2 separate regions of the Homo sapiens genome follow, and region 1 is linked to region 2. Evidence: promoter capture Hi-C in human tissues and cell types (Jung and others, 2019). All regions are on one chromosome and are shown on one strand. Each heading gives the region's core, a stretch centred on a gene start or on the middle of the fragment in contact. The rest is flanking DNA. Distances are from core to core; before and after follow the strand shown. Region 1 overlaps DIP2C (disco interacting protein 2 homolog C). Region 2 holds the start of LARP4B (La ribonucleoprotein 4B).

The links. The method cuts DNA at HindIII sites, captures the fragments that hold promoters and counts their contacts. A contact is called where the count stands out against the background at its distance.
Region 1: a fragment that was not itself captured here is called in contact with the fragment with the promoter of LARP4B in region 2 in 2 of the 25 tissues and cell types used here (dorsolateral prefrontal cortex and hippocampus).

The regions. Positions count from the first base shown.
Region 1 is chr10:325,410-332,070 of GRCh38, reverse strand. DIP2C (disco interacting protein 2 homolog C) reads left to right here. Exons shown (of 37, transcript NM_014974.3): 30 at 2,470-2,638; 31 at 4,895-5,065. Among named protein-coding and RNA genes, the nearest start is that of ZMYND11, 190 kb to the right of the region's middle. The HindIII fragment of the contact is 5,847 bases long and covers 1-4,627 here.
Region 2 is chr10:926,867-933,687 of GRCh38, reverse strand. It overlaps LARP4B (La ribonucleoprotein 4B), which reads left to right and starts at 1,983. Exons shown (of 18, transcript NM_015155.3): 1 at 1,983-2,260. LOC124902363 (keratinocyte proline-rich protein-like) reads right to left here and starts at 1,697. Exons shown (of 2, transcript XM_047426111.1): 1 at 573-1,697. The coding sequence starts at 1,561. The coding sequence ends at 857. LARP4B-DT (LARP4B divergent transcript) reads right to left here and starts at 662. Exons shown (of 3, transcript NR_120629.1): 1 at 573-662. RefSeq lists silencers at 1,403-1,492, 1,573-2,282, 2,353-2,462, 2,493-2,572, 2,663-2,792. The HindIII fragment of the contact is 5,279 bases long and covers 1-4,928 here.

The sequences.
Region 1 (6,661 bases), core at 455-2,954, 600 kb after region 2:
GGTGGTACGTGCCTCTAGTCCCAGATACTTGGGAAGTGGGAGGATCACTTGAGCCCATGAGGTCAGGGCTACAGTGAGCTGTGATCACACCACTGCACTCTAGCCTGGGTGACAAAGTAAGACTCTGTCTCAGAAAAAAAGAAAAGAAGTGGTTAATATGGTAAATGTTATGTTACATATGTTTTACCACAGTAAAATTTTTAAAACTAAGATGAAATGGCCAGTTTACAGCAGAGTAAAAATTCGAGGCCTGATATTCACCCCTTATGTGCCTAACCCTGTTCTCAAAGTATTAAACCCTTGGAAAGGTCACTATTTGCTAGAAAGTCGTCCCTCGGTGTCCACGGAGGAGATAGGTTCCGGGACCACTGCAGAAAGCAAAGAGCGAGGATGCTCAAGTCCCTGATATAAAATGGCATCATACGAGCACATCACCTATGCACTTCCTCTCTCATGTTTTAAATAATTTCTGGATTACTTGTAATACCTAACACAATGTAAATGCTGTGTGAATAGTTGTACTATGTTGTTTAGTCACTAATGATAAGAAAATCTACAAGTTAGGTATAGATGCAGATTTTTTCATGAATATCTTTGATTCATGGTTGAAGCCAGGGGTGAGGAACCCACAGACACAGAGGGCTATGTGTCCTTTTGAAAAGAATAAATCAAGCTTTGGAATAAGAATGAGGAAAGAAATGGAAAATTGCCCAAAAACGCCTTTGTCACATTTGCCGAAGAGTAGTTTTTCATACTAAGGGTCCCGTTTGAAATAAATTTTGTTAGCCAACCTAACTTCCTTACATTTCTTTAGTTGGATTCTCTTATAAACAATTATGAAAATTTTTAGATGAGATTGGCTACATTAAAGAACTGGCTTTAGTATTATAGCATAGTAGTTAACAAGGCCTAACTCGTTAATCATAGTGCTGTTTCACTGATAAAATTTTGCGTAGGCCTCTTATGGCAGCTCATGCCTATAATCCTAGCACTTTGGGAGGCTAAGATAGGAGGAGTACTTGAAGCCAGGAGTTTGAGACCAGCCTGGGCAACAATACGAAACCGTATCTACAAAAAAAAAAAAAAAAAAAATTAGCCAGGCATAGTGTTGTGCATCTGTAGTCCCAGCTACTCAGGGACTGAGGTGGGAGGATGGCCTCAGCTTGAAAGGCAGAGGTTATAATGAACCCAGATCACACCACTGCACTCCAGTCTGGGTGACAGAGTGAGACCCTGTCTCAAAAAAAAAAAAAAAAAATTGTGTAGGTTGGGCATGGTGGCTCATGCCTGTAATCCCAACACTTTGGGAGGCCAGGCACATCTTACATGGCCACAGCAGGAACAAGAGAGGATTGCTTGAGCCCCGAAGTTCAAGATGAGCCTAGGCAACATAGACCCTACCACTGAAAAAAAAAAAAAACAAGCATGGTGGTGCACACCTGTGGTCCTACTGACTCAGGAGAGGCAGGAGAATTGCTGGAGCCCAGGAGTTTGAGGTGACAGGTAGCTATGATTACACCACCCTACTCTAGCCTGGGCAACAGAACGTTCCCGTTAATTAAATTGTAAATCTTAGAACGTGATTTATCTAGGATATTTTATTTTAATGTATGGTATCTATTGTGAATTCATAGTAGTAAACAAAATTAAAACCATTAAAAATGTAGTTTTGACAAGTTGTTAAATCCACACTTACCCCATCAATTGATAAAATATGTAATCTATCACTTTTTCATTTCTCTAAATCTGTTCTCTAGTATGAAGGTAAAATTAAAGAATCGTTATTTTTCTCTATTTCTTCTGTTTGGTAATTCGTTGGGATCCTTTTTAGTAAAAATCTGATCTTAAAAAGATTGAGTGACTAACTTTAATTACCATAATTGTCTTTTTTTCACCCTGGCTGTCAGTTTTCTAAACCAGGTATAGGCCTGCTCTTTATTAAATTGCTGTTTGGTAAATATTTTAGGTTCTGTGGTCTCTGACCACTCAGCTCAAAGCCACTGGAGACAATATTTAAACAAATGAGTGGTGGTGGCCCTGTTCCAATAAAACTTTATTTACAAAAACAGGAAGTGTCTGTGGTTTGCCAGCTCCTGTTCTGAAGCTGGACTTTTTTTTTTTAAACCGAAATTTGATCCCTGTGTTTTCTACTAAGAAAGAGGATCCAGTTTGCTGATGTCGCAGGTCTGAGAGACATCACAGCATCACAGCGTTTAGTAGTCTTAAATGTGTGTTCAAAGTGGTAGGAACTGCCCCATGATTCTGTAGTACGTATTTGCTTTTCAGAAGGCTTTCGTGAACATGGTTGCAGTTTGCAGCGTTGGCTTTACTGTGCCCTTCTACAGATGGCAGCACGGGCTGTTCCAAGTCCTCCTTTTCCTTGGAGTCAGTGCTGCCCTGAGCCCTCCAGCCTTGCTGAGCTCCAGCCTTGCTGAGCTCCCGCCCTGACAGCCTCTTCTTTCTCTGCAGTGTGTATTCTGGGCACCAGTCCATCCTGATCCCGCCCTCTGAGCTGGAAACCAACCCCGCCTTGTGGCTTCTTGCCGTGAGTCAGTACAAAGTCCGAGACACGTTTTGCTCCTACTCCGTGATGGAGCTGTGCACCAAGGGGCTGGGCTCGCAAACAGAGTCCCTCAAGGTAAGCAGCTCCCTTGGCAGCTCAGTGCCCTGTGAGCCCACAGGGACTCCTTTCTAAGAAGGCACATCTGTGATGGGGTGAAGTTAAAACAGTCCTCCAAAACAAAGCCTGGGTTTAATCTAACGTCACCTGAAGCTTACAAACTGCCTTTATATGAAAATCTTTTTAACGTGAATATTTCCCCACGACCACAGACAGTAACGAACCAGAATGTAAAATATTTTCAATGCCTGTCATTCCACTGGGTCTACTTGAAAGATCCTAAATTTGATTTTTTGTTGGGTGGATTCAGTGTTCTGAAGTGTTCAGTGTTCAGAAGATCTTAGGTGATGTTAACTTTATTTGATACTGGTGTTTAAGAAGGTAGGTTTGAATTTAGCCGCTCACTTTTATTTTCCCTGGAGACCCTGATTTCTGGGTCTGGACCCTAAGCTCAATTCATTTTACAGTTCAGTTAACAGTGTTGTGTTTCATTTTTTAATAATTGCTATTATGTAAGAATAATAGTATTTCCCTCCATTTAAACCAAGGACATTTTGATACGTATATCTTCATGGTAAATTAAGTAGTCCTTAGCTCCAAGTAACTAGGAGGGAATAATCATCTGACCAGTTTTGATAAAATTTCAACTGACTTTGTACTCTTTGGATGTGTGTATGTCTTTGTATATACATGGATTGTGTTTGTGTTTCTGTCATCTACACAGAGATCAATAACGGAACAGTACATTTATCTGTCCTGCATTGTTTTCCTAATGCATAAAGCTTGGACAGGAAAGCAAAATGCAAGATAACTTTATGTAACATAAGTAATTGTGCAATCATTTTAAGTTTTTATATAGGAAAAAGTTAGCACTATTCATGTTCATCTATATTGTATTAGAAAGTGAGTACATTTTCATGACCTTCCTGTTGGCACATATATAAATAACCAGAATAAAATCATGACATAGTTGAGGGTCAGTATGCAATTTACGTATTCATTTCATCCTTACAATAGCTCTCTGAAATAGGAGCCCTTATTGTCTCCATTTTAAAGCTGAGGAAACTTATGTCATAGAGAAATTAAGCAACCTTTCCAGGTTCTTAGGCTGAACGAACCTGGAGCCAAATTTAGAATCTTTGGCTTCAGACCTGCTGTTGCAGCTGCATGCTGCTTTACCTCTCAGACGTGCGCGCGTGTGAATATGTAATTTGTGTCACCCAGACTTGAGTTTTTCCTGTTTAACTCTGTGTGTACAGTCGTGTCTGTACACTGAGCACGAATGTCAAAGCCAGCTCGAGCTGTGCGTCCTCCTTGCTCAGGACCCTTGTCGGTTGTCCGTGTGCCGAGGCTGCCTTGAAAGGGTTCGCAGGGCCTGACGGTTGGGGTTTTGGTGGCCGCCCCCTTAGCAGCTCTGGGTTCCACTCCAAGACGCAGACATTCACGGCTCGCCTTCACATTCACAAGCCATTCCTGTCGCTCCCTTACTTTCCCTCTGCTCGGCCCAGGTAGTGCCACAGAGTGAGCTGAGCTTAACTCCTTGAATTCCTGTATGACTTTTTCTGTTGTGCTCGGCTGACTGAATTTGGTGTGGAAACTGAGATGTTGTTAATCTTTTGCTTACTGTGGAAACAGACACGCTTGAGAATGAGAAGAAATTCTTGGCGTAATGGGACATAAATGGAGCACTGTCTATGAAGTCATCCAAAAATTTTAGTTTTATATTCCTATATATTAAAATGTAGGTTTTCAGGCTGGGTGTGGTGGTACATGTCTGCAGTCCCAGCTACTTGGGAGACCACAAGGTGGGAGGGTCACTTGAGCCGAGGAGTTCAACTCCAGCCTGGGCAGCATAGCAAGATCCCATCTCTTTTACATGTAGATTTTTCCCGTTCCTCTCCAGTGTGTGTTCTGGTACATCCATGCCCAGAAGAATGTATCAGATGGCTCTCTTTTCCCGAACGGCCTTTCATCGTCTCAGCCAGGAAGTTGCTTTTCCTCAACCTTTTTCCTCATAACAGTTCTTGCTGTGGCTCCAGGTGGTTGTTTGAGACGTGTTTGTAATTCCATTCTTAATCATTTGAATAGTTGTGTGAATGTTTTTTCACCAACTCCTGGTTTGTTATATTGAAGAAGTGGACACAGGTGGCCCTGGAAATGCATAGCTGTGTTGAGTTTTCCAATGTTTACGTGGGGATCTGTGGGAAGGAGTCTCTGGCTCACTCCAAGCTCGACACGTGGGGGCTGACTCGGTTTCTCTGTCATCATCTCCAGGCGCGAGGGCTGGACTTGTCCCGAGTGAGGACCTGCGTGGTTGTGGCGGAAGAGAGGCCTCGGATCGCACTCACACAGTCGTTCTCAAAGCTGTTTAAGGACCTGGGCCTTCACCCGCGGGCCGTCAGCACCTCGTTCGGTTGCAGGGTGAACCTGGCGATTTGCTTGCAGGTGAGATTCGGCGACATCACAGTGCTGAGTGGGAAGTGTGGCTCCCGGGGTGGGTACAGCACAGACTGGCTCCACTCGTCTCCCTCGGCTGATGCTTAGCTACATCCAGAAGAGATCTTTCAGTCACACGCATGCGGTTGGTGCAGATCTCTGTTTCTTTAAACTACAGTCTACGTTCGTATCCATTATTCATAACAAGCATTCATAGGACTTACTCTGTCCTGGAACATTTTAACTTTTGTGACAGGGGTAGCAGTTTGTCCAGACCTCTGCTGTTCGACTTTTTAAAGATTAGATACTAGACAGATGAAGAAACCAGTCCCTCGAAGTACTTAGTCCCACGCGTGTAGACGATCGCTGTAGGAAGAACTTAATGACATTGAGCAGGTTCTGGGATTTGCTGCTGCAATGGCATTTTAGAAACCGCAAAGCCGCACTTCTGGGAAACAGGCGTAAGTGAAGCAGCTCTAGCAAGACAGCCTTGCATTAACAGTGGCTGACAAGCTGCAGGCAGAGCTGCGGATTTCCTTCCTGGAAGAATAAGGGCTTCCCTCTCAGCAGGTGCTGGTGAGGCAAACGGTTGGTGTGCATCCCTCCACCTCCCTCTCCCCACCCCCTATCCTACTTGTGATCCCAGAGTGATTGCTTAAGGTTGCTGCTGGGTGAGCCTCCGAAGGCTCCCTCTGCCCTTTTCACGCCTGTCTAGGTGCTTGGAGTTAGCCACTAGGTCAGAGGAGGGAACCTCCTCTCTTCCCGAGATCACTTCAGAAAAAGTAGCTGCAAAAAGCTTTTCTTGATTTTTCTTTTACTTTTTTGAGACAGGGTATCACTCTGTCACCCAGGCTGGAGTGCAGTGGCGTCATGGCTCACTGCAGCCTCAACCCCCTGCCCCCCGCTCCCAGGCTCAAGCAACCCTCCCACCTCAGCCTCCCACGTGGCTGGGACTACAGGTGCACACCACCACGCCTGGCTAATTTTTAAATTTTTTGTGGAGACGGGGTTTCACCATGTCGCCCAGGCTGGTCTTGAACTCCTCAGCTTAACAATCTGTCTGCCCTGGCCTCCCAAAGTGCTGGGATTACAGACGTGAGCCACTGCACCCGGCCTTTTTTTTAATTTTCATAAACGTGGTGTTCCTTGCTTCTGTCTTGCTTCTCTTTTAATTATTATAATAGCTCCATCTTTAAGAAATTATAAATTACCAAATTTCTCTCAAGAGTCAGTTAAACCTTGTCCTATGATTAAAATAATACCCTTTTCTAAGAGGTCATCTGAAGAATTAGATTTATCTCACCAAACTAGTTCTTAAAATATTGAAGTTTTCTCTGCCTATTCACCTTTTTCTGTTCCTCATAAATGTTTATCGCCATCTATCCCATTAGGAGAAATAGGAAATGCAGAAGTCTGCTTCTTAAGTTCAGCAATAGTGTGATGTCTCACTTGTCTCCATCCACCAGTGACAGGGACCCCCGGGCAAGAGGAAATCAGTGATTTGTGAGAGATGGCACTGGCCATGGCGAGGCTGCTGCTTCTGGCTTTGTCTCTTAAAATGTCAAGGTGGCGCTGAAGGGAGAGAGCAGAGAGTAACCCGTCGCA
Region 2 (6,821 bases), core at 734-3,233:
CAGGGCAGGTTGTCCAGGTAAGCAAGTTTTCTGAAATATGTACATGCTTTTAATATTAAAGGAAATGTGTCTTATGTCGTTAAATGTTCTTTAAAAACATTACTATGAATATAATTATTTAACTTGCAAATTCCCTTAAAGCTAGGATGCAACAAGGTTTCACAAAGAAGGCACCCAACCTTGATGTCAACAGTCTACCCACTATGGGAAGCCGGAGAGGCTTTCTTCCAAAATGCAGAATTGTCAGCATTTGAACGCTGAGTACGAAAAATTATAAGCACAGGCTGGGTACACCGGCTCCCATCTCTAATCCCAGATTTTGGGGGCCCGAGACAGCACTCTGAGCTCAGAGTGCAGACCTGCATAGAGCAAGACCCTGTATCAAAAAACAAAATTAAAAAAGCAGTTGTAAGCACAGGTACACGGTTAACCATGAATATGGTATCCCTGAAAAGCCGTTTTAATGGGGGAACAAACCTAAAATTTGGAATAATTGATAATATGTGTATATGTAGCCAATCAGAGCAGAAACCAGAAAATCAGGCAGCAAGCTTAAGGGAAACGCAACATACTTTGTTTGGTTTCCTTTTCTTCCATAAACTGATCAGGGGTAGGTAGAGTATGCTGCTATAGTTCGGAGTCGTCACCATCCTCACGGAAACGGCAGGAGTGTGAACACCTCCCTGAGCTACCAAGAGCATCTGACTCGTTGCAACGTGGGCCCGAACCCAGCGCCTCTAGGAAACGTGGGGCCGGGGCCTTTTGGTCCCGGGTGTGGGTTGGGGGTTTGGGGAAGGGCCGGGGCCTTGATCCCAGGTGTGGGGTTGGGGATTCCGGGGCTGAGCCGAGGCCTTGGTTAGGGGTGTGGGGCGGGGGTTCGGGGCAGTGCCGGGGCCTTGGTCCCGGGTGTGGGGTTGGGACTTCGGGGCCGGGACCTTCGTCTCAGGTGTGGGGCGGGAGTTCGGGACAGGGCTGGGGCCTGGGTCCCTGGTGGGGCGTTCGGGGCAGTGCCGGGGCCTTGGTCCCGGGTGTGGGGTGGGAGTTTGGGGCAGGGCCGGGGCCTGGGTCCCGGGTGGGGCGTTCGGGGCAGGGCCGGGGCCTTGGTCCCGGGTGTGGGGTGGGAGTTTGGGGCAGGGCCGGGGCCTGGGTCCCCGGTGGGGCCTTCGGGGCAGGGCCGGGGCCTTGGTCCCGGGTGTGGGGTGGGAGTTCTGGGCAGGGCCGGGGCCTTGGTCCCGGGTGTGGGGTGGGAGTTCTGGGCAGGGCCGGGGCCTTGGTCCCGGGGGTGGGGTGAGGGGTTCGGGGCAGGGCCGGGGCCTTGGTCCCGGGTGTGGGGTGGGAGTTCGGGGCAGGGCCGGGGCCTGGGTCCCGGGTGTGGGGTGAGGTGTTCCGGGCAGGGCCGGGACCTTGATCCCAGCTGTGGGGTGGGAGTTCGGGGAAGGGCCAGGGCGTGTCCTGGGTGGCCAGGGTCGGGGCCTGGGTCCTGGGGGTGGGATGAGGGGTTCGGGGCAGGGCCGGGGCCTTGGTCCAGGGTCTGGGGACAGGCTAGGGCCGGGGTCGCCATCCGTCCTGGGCGGCGGGCAGGGGTCTTTAAGGGGCGCACGCGGTGGCGGAGGACCAGGGCCCAGCCCTCCGGAAGTCAGGGCCCACACGGCCCCCCAGCGTCAGGCGCTCCGGTCGCGCCGGGGACGGCGGGCGGGGCGGGCGGGGCGGGCGGGGCGGACGTGCGGCGTGCGCGGGGCGGGGCGATGTGCGCGCACGCGCCAATCGCAAGGCCGCGAGCAGGGTGTACGCGCGGAGAGGCCAAGAAGGCGGCGGGGCGGGCCGAGCGTCGGGTGCGCCCAATCAGCGCGCCGCAACACCATGACGTGAGGCTCTCCCGGGGCTGAGCGCCAGTCCGCGGGACCGGCGGGTGAGTGCGCGAGTTCAGGGCGCGAGGCGCGGGTCCGCGCGGGGGCGGGACTTCCGCAGGGCCCCGGAAGTGGGAGCTGTGTGTTCTCATGCGAACGGGAAGGAGCGTTGGGGATCTGGAGTCCCGGGGTTGAGACATTTTCGGGCCCGAAAGGGGAAGAATCCGCCGCCGCCGCCGCCGCCAGCTCGCGCCCGCCCTCTCCCCTACCTCCGGCCCGGCCCGGCCCGGCCGCGCCGCCTCTCCCTGCCGTCTCTCTCCTCGCCGTCCCCGCGTGTGGCGCGGCCGCCGGGCCCCGGGGTTGAGGCGAGGAGCCCGCGGGCGGCCGGTCGGGCGGGGCGGCGGCGCTGACAGGTGAGGCACCCTGGGCCGCGGCGGGCCGTCCCTCCCGGCCCAGCTCGGACCCGCGCCGCGCCGCCTGTCACTGCGCCGCCATCTTCCCGGAGGACGCGGCCGCGGCGGGCAGGGCCGGGCCTGGGCCGGGGCCGGGGCCGGGGCAGGGGAAGGCCGGGGCCGGGTTGAGGAGGACCGGGGCTAGGGCACGGGAAGGGCCAGGGCTGAGGAGGACCGGGGTCAGGGCCAGGAAAAAGCCGGGGCTGAGGAGGACCGGGGCCGGGGCAGGGGAAAACTGGGGCTGAGGATGGCCGAGGCCGGGGCAGGGGAAGGCCGGGGCCGGGGCTTAGGAGGACCCGTTGAGGCGAGGCGGGAGTCGACGGAGCTGGGTGCCCGGAAGACCGGGCCGGGGTCAGGGTCGGGAGGCCGGGGTTGGGCGAAGGCCGGCGAGGACGGGGGTCGGGCAGGGCCTGGGCGGGGCCGGGGTCGCGGGCCGCGAGCGCCCCCAGGCCGGGCGGGCGCCGGCACCCGCAGTGCGGCGCCAGCCTTGCCACTCGCTCCTCGGTCCCGCCGGAGCCCGGATAGGCGGCCGTGCGGGTGCGGGGCGGGACGGGTCATCAGGGCATCGCATTCCTTTAGAACCAGGAAGTTGGGATCCTGTTGCTCGGTGTGTGTTTGGAACGCTCCTGTTTTCCTGTTGATAGACTTGAGCAGAGGTGGATCTGAAGGAGTTAAAAAAATAAAGTCAGATGTGAAGATTGCCTGTGTTGGTCTTGGGGCTGGGATACATGGGCGGCAGAGAAGCCATCGGAAAGCTGCTGCACCTGCCTCTCAGGGTGCGCTTGGGAACGTGAAGAGTCTTTCCGTTTCAGTGCCGTTGTGCGTCGAAACTTCATGCGAATGTAATTTTGCTTTTCCCCTTATTTTTACGTAAAACGTTCTTAAAACTTGGCTGAGATGAAACTTGAGAAACCTAGCTGTAGAAAACTACCTCCTATCTGGCTTTCGTTTGAGATTCTCTAAGTGGATGCCCAATAACTTGTCTTAATAGTAAATTGGAAGTTTGAAGTTTTGGATAACTGAGAAAACAGGAAGGTTTTCCTTGACAGGGCAGTGGAGTTTGTAAGTATAAACAGTATGCGTGAGGCCTTTTTCTAGAGATGAGAGCAACTCCAAGGTGAACATTGAAGGGGACAGACAAGTTATTTTCCCTTTCGAAAGTTTTTTTCTCTTAGTTTCAGTTGTTTGAATATTTAAATGCACTTGAAATAGGTGCTGAGTTGTAGTTTGTGAAGACCACAGTGGGGAAGAGTGGTGTCCTCTTTTTTCTTGGTGGTCAGGTGGTGTGTGCAGTGTGCAATTTCCATACTTCCCCAACCTGCCTGGCGCCCCTCATTACAGTCAGGGTAATTTACAGAAGTTGAAATCGTTGTGGCTTTTCAGTTTTTTCTCCTTGTATTTAATATGCTGAAAGGCAGTTTTGTAATCAAACCATATAAGAAATAGCTTAATTGAGGTTTGCTAAGTGAAATGCGTTCCGAAAGGCATCAGATTAACAAGCTTATTATTTAATCATAAATTTAATTTGTGTACTTATCTTTGAAACTTGCATTGGTTAGAAATAAATTTTATCCGGTATTTTGAAAAGTTAATGTGAGTTGAGTTGACTTATTTATATGAAACAAAGGCATGGCTTATTCATTAGAAGTTACCCTCGTGTTGCCTACATTTTCTCAATTGTAACAGGGGGATGATGATAATCTCATTTTCTTAGGACTGTTGTAACACAAACATGGAAATGTTGTCTGGTTTTGCTATTTTCACTATTACTGATTTTTTTCTTCCCCCCCCGAGTTGGAGTCTTGTTCTGTCACCCAGGATGGAGTGCAGTGACACGATCTCAACTCACTACAACCTCCACCTCCTAGGTCTTCAAGTTATTCTCCTGCCTCAGCCCCCCGAGTAGCTGGGATTTACAGGCACATGCCACCACACCTGGCTAATTTTTGTATTTTTAGTAGAGACGGGGTTTCAGCATGTTGCCCAGGCTGGTCTCGAACTCCTGGCCTCAAGTGATCCACCTGCCTTGGCCTCTCAAAGTGTTGGGATTACAGGAGTGAGCCACTGCGCCCAGCTTACTGAATTTTTAAAATATTCTACCTTGTAGCTGTCAATCTATTAGCAGAAAGTTTTGTTTTTGTTTTTGTTTTTTTGTTTTGTTTTTTTTGGCTTGTTTACACATGTATCTGGGCAGAGAAAACAGCTTCTGAGCACAGAATGCATATTTGGAGAAAGCAGTTCCACTCTTTTTGAGTAGGAACCAGACAGAAAAAAAGATAACATGGGTACTATTCTGTAGAAGAGTAGCTGAAATTAAGTGGCAGCAAATTCAGGGAGAAATGTAATTTGGTTTAATGTTCGGGAAGATTGCCATTTTTAAAAGTGAGATTTAAAGAATTTATTGAATTTAATGCAATTTCCATAAGTAAGCACAAGTTTTGACAAGTATATATTTAAGGTGTTTTTATGAAGCAGTCTTCACATTATCTTAAAATGTAGTTCTAAAATACGTGCAGGCTGGGTGAGGTGGCTCATTCCTGTAATCCCAGCACTTTGGGAGGCCTAGGTGAGTTTAGGAGCCCAGGAGTTCACCAGCCTGGGCAACATAGAGAGACCTCATCTCTACCAAAAAATCAAAAAATTAGCCAGGCATGGTGGCTCACACCTGTAGTCCAGCTGTTGGAGAAGCTGAAGTGGGAAGATCGCTTGAGCTTGGGAGGTTGAGGCTGCAGTGAGCCATGATCCTGCCACTGCACTCCATCCTGGACAACAGTGAGACCTTGTCTCCCCCCACCCCCAAAACATGCAAATTGGGACATCAAATTGTTAATGGTGTTTACAATGAACAGTGCCTTCAGGTAGCTGCAGCTACTCTACATAGATTTGCAAGTTTTTGTAGTGATAGGCTATGGTAGATGTTACCAGCCAAGGAGTGGCTGACAAACTCCTTTCACTGTTATTTCATTGTCATGTTAAAATTCATATTTTCCGTCAAAATAGTGATAGCTAGGATTATAATCTAGGTCTTCTAATCTTAGTAACGTGTTGTCTATGTTAGGGCCTCTCAAAGTTGTAAAAAAGCTGTATAGATGTGTTACCATCAATCGATTTCATTTGTTTTTATCCTAGTGTTAAAGGTACAAGTTTTTTTTTTTTTTTCTTTCCTGAGGCGGACTTTCACTCTTGTCGCCCAAGCTGGAGTGCAATGGTGCGTTCTTGGCTCACTGCATCCTCCGCCTCTCGGGTTCAGGTGATTCTCCTGCCTCAGCCTCCCGAGTAGCTGGGATTACAGGTGCCCTCCACCACACCTGGCTAATTTTTTTTTTTTTTGTATTTTTAGTAGAGTTGGGATTTCACCATGTTGGCCAGGCTGGTCTTGAACTCCTGACCGCAGGTGATTCGCCCGCCTCGGCCTCCCAAAGTGCTGGGATTGCAGGCGTGAGCCACGGCGTACCTGGCCAAAGGTACAAGTTTTAAATATGCTTTTATCATGCATACAGTACTCTTATAGATTCTGTCAGATTTAGGGATATTCTTTTCAGATTGATAAATTGCACAAAAATCTTGGAGTATATTCTTGTAATTTCTTCTACAAAATTCTCAAAACAACCTTTTTCCAATGGGGAGAAGACATGAACACTGAAGTCATGTTTTTGGAAAATACCTTGTTAAAAACAGACACTGCTGTAAGGGTTTCCTTGCTTATGCTCTTTTGTAGAACTTTATTGATGTGAAGAGTTCTCCTTTTTCTGTAAAAGCTTATTTTAGAGTACGAAGTAAATGAGGCACTCAGAGAGTTAACCTCATCAGGTCTGAGTTTAGTTCAGTTTAAACTTTTTGCTCTTATGCTGGTTGATATCTTTGTAACTACTCTACTTCTAGAGTTATTTTGATTGGAAAATGAATTCCTTTTTTAGAACATGGAATTGTAAGGTAGAAAACTGCTAGGTTCTCAAAAGAAGGGAGATAAATTCCAACTTGAAAGTTTTTTCCCCTAACGTTCTAATGCTTTGTTTTTCCTGTGTGTAAATGCCTTCCTTAGGAACAAGGAAAATTATTAACTCAGCTGTGTTTCCTTCCCTTCTCTTTCTCACTGCCCCCCCGCCACCCCATACCTTAATACCTTTTGTCCCTTCAATGCCTTTATAAACTCTGTCTTCTCATAGTTTTTCTGGTGAAGCTGTCATGGCTCCTATTTCAACCATAAAGGATTTGCAGTTCAGTGATGCTACTGGTTTTACATCTTCTTTCCCATCAACCCCATTGCCCTGGTTAGGAGACCTAGACCATGGAGTACATTGCAATATTGAAAGTATTTCATGTTTAACACAATTTTTTTTTTTTTTTTTGAGACCGAGTCTCGTTCTGTTGCCCAGGCTGGAGCGCACTGGCACGATCACGGCTCACTGCAACCTCTGCCTCCAGGGTTTAAGCGATTCCCCTGCCTCAGCCTCCTGAGTAGCTGGGACTACATACAGGTGCGTGCCACCACGCCCGGCTAATTTTTGTACTTTAGTACAAA